2 separate regions of the Homo sapiens genome follow, and region 1 is linked to region 2. Evidence: promoter capture Hi-C in 16 types of primary human blood cells and fetal thymus (Javierre and others, 2016). All regions are on one chromosome and are shown on one strand. Each heading gives the region's core, a stretch centred on a gene start or on the middle of the fragment in contact. The rest is flanking DNA. Distances are from core to core; before and after follow the strand shown.

Region 1 (3,366 bases), core at 861-3,360, 200 kb before region 2:
TACTTCCTTTTAGGGGATACTTCTGACGGCCCTTCTAGCTCACTAATTTGCCCTCAATTATAGTCATTCTATTCTCCATCCCATCCATTGGGCTCTTCCTATGATATTTTTCAGATATTTCCACATGGCCCTTTTTGCATCAAGTACACAATTACATAATTCCTTATTATGTTTCACATTCATTTTGCATGCACACTTTGTTATTGACAAAGTTTCTTATGCTTGTTTTCATGCTGCTAATATTGCCACATCTTTTTAGTGCATGTAATATGCTCAGTTTAGCTTCTTGACCAAAGCGTCCTAGTACTTGTGCTTCTAGTGGTCTATCAGGTTCTGTTGGTTTGCTTTTCTTCAAAGGTGCCCAGCCTTCTGAGCTGTGAGCTCACATTCCCCTGGGGTTATTGGCTACTCTGGCAGTGTTTCTTGAATGAGGGAAGGGCAGATGCTGGCCTGTGTCAGGCTTACTGAGCCAAAGAAATGACAGGGACGCCGGGCACGGTGGCTCACGCCTATAATCCCAGCACTTTGGGAGGCCGAGGTGGGCAGATCACCTGAGGTCGGGAGTTTGAGGCCAGCCCAACCAACATGGAGAAACTCCGTCTCTACTAAAAATACAAAATTAGCCAGGTGTGGTGGCACATGCCTGTAATCCCAGCTACTCGGGAGGCTGAGGCAGGGGAATCTCTTGAACCTGGGAGGTGGAGGTTGCAGTGAGCCGAGATCATGCCATTGCACTCCAGCCTGGGCAACAACAGTGAAGCATCGTCTCAAAAAAAGAGAAATGACTGGGACAAGCCCCAGGGTGGATCCCCTCAAGAACCCAAACCACACCCAACCAGTCCCACTTCCTATCACCCCAGTAAGGCAGCTTAAGTCATCCCTCCATCTTCAGACCCTCGTGGAGAAGCAACATTGGTCAAGGACTCTCGTTGCATTGTGATCCACCAGCCCTGGGAGTTTGGAGTGGAGAAAATGGCAAGGAGAATGTCAAAGACCAGTGAGCTTCCACCTCCGTTCTCCTTCTCCTCACCCCAGTGGGCCTCTGGTGCTTACCCAACACATGCCTGTTGGACACTGGCACATCATAATCCTGTCCATACTCTGAATTCTGCAGTGAGGGGCAGACAATGTTTGTCCCACTGGAAGGGTAGAGGAGAGAAAGGAGCAGAATTCAAGTATGTTTGGGCTAACCCATCCTCTCAACAAGCCAGCTGTCCCCCCGCCCAGTTCTCCCACCCCTTTTCTTCAAATGAGCCTTAACTTTCCCCTAGGGATATCAGTGTGATTGATTGATCATAAATTGATTTGTAAAGTTTTGTTCACCCAGGAGCTCCATCTTTAGTTCCATCATTGGTAGGTCTTGGAGAACAGAGCCGGTGTATGAATTCACTCTTTTGACAAGAACTATGGTAGAGAGAGCTTTGTTTTCTCCTTTATTTTACCTTTAACCATTCTGCACACTTTCATGCCATAGGCAGAATGGTAAAGCGAGGCACAGCATGGTCCCTGGAGTTTGACGTCCTGCATTCAGGTTCTAGATTCACCCACTTGCAAGCTGTGTGACCTTGGATAAGCTAATGAACCTCTCTGTTTTTTTGTTTTCTCCTATAGAAATTGGGTTATTAATATGCTAGTATCTGTCTCGGATTGTTACAAGGAGTGCTTAGTAAAGTGGCAAGCTCACAGGGAGCTCACTTATAACTGTTACCCAGTATTACTTTTCCTTCTGTCTAACAAGGAACTGCATGACGGGGAGGTATTTGGGTGGTTTCAGTCTGCTTTATGTCCTCATTTATACGAACGGCATCTAGCCCAAAGAAAGCACTCAGCAAAGAGCTATTGAGTGAAAGGGTGAACATACTGCATTGTCCTATTTACTAATCTGAGCTGTGCCTTTTCTTTCAGTTGTCAATTTCACCCTTTTTATTTCATATACCGCACACCTATTGATAGACATATGTCTTTATTTCTTCCTTTGCCTGCATAATGCTGGTGTGCATAGCCACTTTTTCATTTTATTTCATCTTTCTTGTGCCTAATATAAGCAGCTCTCTCCAGAAAGTCTATTTTTTTCTGACACAATGAAGCCATTTTTCCCTAACTGCGGAGTCCTTTTAAAAAAACTGTATGGCCAGGTGTGGTGGCTCACACCTGTAATCCCACCACTCTGGAAGGCTAAGCTGGGCCAGTCGCTTAGCCCAGGAGTTTGAGACCAACCTGGGTAACGTGGCGAAACCCTGTCTTTACAAAAATTAGCTGGGCATGGTGGCTTGTGCCTGTGGTCTCAGCTACTCAGGAAGCTGAGGTGGGAGGATTGCTTGAGCCAGGGACGGGAGGTTGCAGTGAGACGAAATCACACCACTGCCCTCCAGCCTGGATGACAGAGTGAAACTCTGTCTCAAAAAGAAAACTTCTGAGCTACTGTTTGAAGACTCACGTTGCTTTCAACATATTTTCCATAGCGTGATGGGTAGGGATATGGGTGAAGGTGGGAGAGGAAAGAAATTGCTTACTTGTATCTGGTTACCATCTTTGCTGGGGACAGGATCTGCTCCATTTTGTTTCTCTTTCATGGAAACTGGGTCCAGGATCAGAATTGCCATCTCTTTTCTGGTTTGCACATAAGACACCTTGTAACCTATGCCGAAGGTATACATTTGCTTCATCAATAATCCGCTCCTCCTGCCTAGGTCAGGGTCTATGTCTGATTTCTCACACTGTACGTGCCCAGAACCTGAAACAGGGGAGACAGGGCTGAGTTCGAATCCTGGCCTCGCCATGTATTAGATGAATAACCCTGGGCAAGCTACTTAACCTCTCTCCACCTCAGTTTCCCTGTGTGTAAGGTGGGGATAATTAGAATATCTTTTATACTGTTGTGGGTTTTTTTTTGGTGATGATTCAATGTGATTAGTAAGTCCTCAATATGGTCTGATCAATCATAGTATTACAAAATTTTGAAAGAATGAGCGAATAGTTGAGTTCACAGGAAATGTATATGGACAGGTGGGGCCGGGATTTGAACCCAGCCCTGTCTGCCCTGTGCCGGTTCCTGGGCACGTACAGTGTGAGAAATCAGACATAGACCCTGACCTAGGCAGCCTATGGCCTGTCCTTAGGAGGAGTGGATTATAAAAGGATGAATTGATAAATGTCACATCAGCCCAACTTCCCTGTGGGAACCATTTGTTGTATTTTTCTCTTATTTGGTGTTGAGGTCTCTCTTTGGGGAGTGGTCATAAAATCTAGCCCGGCCTTGAATGGGAACCCCAGAGATCTGGCCATCATGTTCACAGTGTGACTTTCACAGAATACTCCTTTATCCTGGCACACCACCTGCTGCCTGAGTGCCCAGCCTGTGACCCC
Region 2 (3,436 bases), core at 9-2,508:
GAGTTCTGTGTTTCGGTGTGACCCAAACAGAGTCATTTCAGGAAGAGCTCAGTGAGGGGAAAACATCTTGTAGAGTTTACTCCATTCATTGCAAATTACCCCTTCCCTAGTCTGTTCCCCCCACTCTGCCCCTCACTCCCGCCTTCCTCAAACTCTTCCCATCAGCATTAGCTTTGGACATATGTGTTCTAATCCCAATGGGTGTCCCAATTGAATGACAGAGGAGGAAGGGAGACTGGGAAGTGGACTAGGGCCTGGTTGGGGCAGGAGACTGCTTCTGGGGACCAAGGGTCAGTGAGCTCACCAGGAAGCATGAAGAGGTGGAGCTGACACCACCCTACGGTGGCCAGATTTAGAAAAAAAGAAATTCAACATGCTCAGTTAAATTTGAATTTTAGGCCAGGTGCGGTGGTTCACACCTGTAATCTCAGCACTTTGGGAGGTCAAGGCAGGTGGATCATTTGAGGTCAGGAGTTCAAAACCAGCCCTGCCAACATGGTGAAACCCCACCTCTACTAAAAATACAAAAATTAGCTTGGCGTGGTGGCGCGTGCCTGTAAGCCCAGACTCAGGAGGCTGAGGCAGGAGAATCACTTCAGCCTGGGAGGTGGAGGTTGCAGTAAGCAGAGATTGCACCACTGCACTGCAGCCTGGGTGACAGAGTGAGACTCTGTCTCAAAATATAATTAATTAATTAATTAATTTGAATTTCAGATAAATTTATTTTGCTTTCTGGTATAAGTATATCCCATGCAGCATTTCGGACATACTTATACCAAAAAACATAAAATAAAATACTTTATATTGTCTGTGAAAGCTTTAACCAGGCATCCTGCATTTTACCTGACAAGACCAGCCCCCTCCAGTAACGGTCCCTTCCCCTGTACCCACCACCTCCACCACCAGTGGCCCAGATAAGGGTAGCTCACTGTGGACTTCTCACTTCTGCTTTTCCGATGACCCAGGGCCCAGAGGGAGAGCCCCCACCCCACTACCCCACCCCCAGCCAGGCCCCCAGGATAGACACAAGCCTGCCCTCTCCTCCTACACAGGGAGCTCTGGAAGGACCAGCTCAACAAGCCCAAGGCCAGGCTGGGCCCCCAGGAGACCCAGAGGACAACTGGGCAAGGTGGGCCGGAGAGTGTGGGGGAAGGCAAAGGAGTTCTGTGAGCTCAGCGTCTGAAGCTCATTTCATGCATCAGGCCCCAGGGCTCAGCTTCCGCCTTCGGCTTCCCCTTCTGCCAAGAGCCCTGAGCCACTCACAGCACGACCAGAGAACAGGCCTGTCTCAGGCAGGCCCTGCGCCTCCTATGCGGAGATGCTACTGCCACTGCTGCTGTCCTCGCTGCTGGGCGGTGAGTGGGCCAAGGGCCGGAAAGGACCTGGGGCGGAGCTAGGGCTGGGGTTGCAGGTTGAGCCTCTGTCTCCCCACAGGGTCCCAGGCTATGGATGGGAGATTCTGGATACGAGTGCAGGAGTCAGTGATGGTGCCGGAGGGCCTGTGCATCTCTGTGCCCTGCTCTTTCTCCTACCCCCGACAGGACTGGACAGGGTCTACCCCAGCTTATGGCTACTGGTTCAAAGCAGTGACTGAGACAACCAAGGGTGCTCCTGTGGCCACAAACCACCAGAGTCGAGAGGTGGAAATGAGCACCCGGGGCCGATTCCAGCTCACTGGGGATCCCGCCAAGGGGAACTGCTCCTTGGTGATCAGAGACGCGCAGATGCAGGATGAGTCACAGTACTTCTTTCGGGTGGAGAGAGGAAGCTATGTGAGATATAATTTCATGAACGATGGGTTCTTTCTAAAAGTAACAGGTATGGAATGGGGTGGGAACCCCTGCCTCTCACACTGGGGAGGGACCCTGGGGACAGCCTATGGGCTGAGCAGAGAGGGCTCTCAGGGACCCCTGCAGCACAAGAATCTCCCACCACGGTCTCTGTCCCAGCCCTGACTCAGAAGCCTGATGTCTACATCCCCGAGACCCTGGAGCCCGGGCAGCCGGTGACGGTCATCTGTGTGTTTAACTGGGCCTTTGAGGAATGTCCACCCCCTTCTTTCTCCTGGACGGGGGCTGCCCTCTCCTCCCAAGGAACCAAACCAACGACCTCCCACTTCTCAGTGCTCAGCTTCACGCCCAGACCCCAGGACCACAACACCGACCTCACCTGCCATGTGGACTTCTCCAGAAAGGGTGTGAGCGCACAGAGGACCGTCCGACTCCGTGTGGCCTGTGAGTGTGGCCTGGGAGGGTGGGGTGTGCAGACAGCCCCGGTGGGTGGGGAGGTGGAGGAGCCCAGTGGGACAGTGAGCGGCTCCCAGCTCAGGAGCATCCAGGGAGAGGAAGCTGTGGGGTCCCAGGATGCCGCCGCAGCCCTGGGAGGGGGATGGGAATGGCGTCTGGTCCACACACGTGAGCCCTGGCGCTGGTTGTCACTTGTCTTCCCGGGATAGTCCCACTTTCTTTTCCCTGAGGGAGTTTTTTCCAGGTGTGAGGAATAAATTGTCCCTCCCTGAAGCCAGCTCACAATCTTGTTGCAGATGCCCCCAGAGACCTTGTTATCAGCATTTCACGTGACAACACGCCAGGTACTGAGGGCCGTCGGGCTGGGGCTGGGCCAGTTGTCTTTAGATGAAAAGGCTTCAGGGGATGAGGGGATGTGCTCCTCCCTGTACCCCTTCTCTCTTTCTCCCTCCCTTTCTCTCTTTTTTTTTTTTCCTCCCACTCCAGCCCTGGAGCCCCAGCCCCAGGGAAATGTCCCATACCTGGAAGCCCAAAAAGGCCAGTTCCTGCGGCTCCTCTGTGCTGCTGACAGCCAGCCCCCTGCCACACTGAGCTGGGTCCTGCAGAACAGAGTCCTCTCCTCGTCCCATCCCTGGGGCCCTAGACCCCTGGGGCTGGAGCTGCCCGGGGTGAAGGCTGGGGATTCAGGGCGCTACACCTGCCGAGCGGAGAACAGGCTTGGCTCCCAGCAGCGAGCCCTGGACCTCTCTGTGCAGTGTGAGTGTGCCCAGCAGGGGCCTGGAGTCCATTGGGAGGGCAGAGGGATACAGGGGCTGGGCTCAGGGTCCCAGAGCTGAGGGGGCCTGGAGCCCCAGGCCTCGGAGACCGACCTTCTTACCTGTGTAGACCCTCATGCAGTTTGTGTCTGGGACTCAGTGGGTGATTCTGCCCTGCCCTTCTATCCCACCCACTTCCCCCACCTCAGTGTCCAGGATGGTTCCCTTTACCCAGAGGGAAGCCCCTGGTCCGTCTAGAGCCGGTCCCCTGTCTCCATTTCAGATCCTCCAGAGAACCTGAGAGTGATGGTTTCCCAAGCAAACAGGACAGGTAGGAAAGGGGACAGAGGAGCCAAGGCCTCTCAGTGCCGAATTGGGGGCCCAGGAGTCTGGAGGGTCCCCACGCAGGAGGGTCCCTGAGCCCTGAGCTGCTCA

Evidence for each region. The method cuts DNA at HindIII sites, captures the fragments that hold promoters and counts their contacts. A CHiCAGO score of 5 or more calls a contact.
Region 1: a fragment that was not itself captured here is called in contact with the fragment with the promoter of SIGLEC10 in region 2 in 3 of 17 cell types (erythroblasts, megakaryocytes and endothelial precursors); the score reaches 8.4 in erythroblasts.

The regions. Positions count from the first base shown.
Region 1 is chr19:51,613,197-51,616,562 of GRCh38, reverse strand. All of the region lies in intron 8 of SIGLEC5 (sialic acid binding Ig like lectin 5), which reads left to right. It overlaps LOC124904753 (a long non-coding RNA gene), which reads right to left. Exons shown (of 3, transcript XR_007067313.1): 2 at 2,514-2,734; 3 at 847-1,139. Among named protein-coding and RNA genes, the nearest start is that of SIGLEC5, 16 kb to the left of the region's middle. RefSeq lists a silencer at 747-896. The HindIII fragment of the contact is 7,305 bases long and covers 1-3,366 here.
Region 2 is chr19:51,415,464-51,418,899 of GRCh38, reverse strand. SIGLEC10 (sialic acid binding Ig like lectin 10) reads left to right here and starts at 1,258. Exons shown (of 11, transcript NM_033130.5): 1 at 1,258-1,355; 2 at 1,435-1,818; 3 at 1,950-2,234; 4 at 2,543-2,590; 5 at 2,733-3,002; 6 at 3,285-3,332. The coding sequence starts at 1,319. SIGLEC10-AS1 (SIGLEC10 antisense RNA 1) reads right to left here and starts at 3,176. Exons shown (of 3, transcript NR_164125.1): 1 at 2,768-3,176; 2 at 2,170-2,471; 3 at 703-1,768. RefSeq lists enhancers at 1,029-1,098, 1,159-1,328. The HindIII fragment of the contact is 3,908 bases long and covers 820-3,436 here.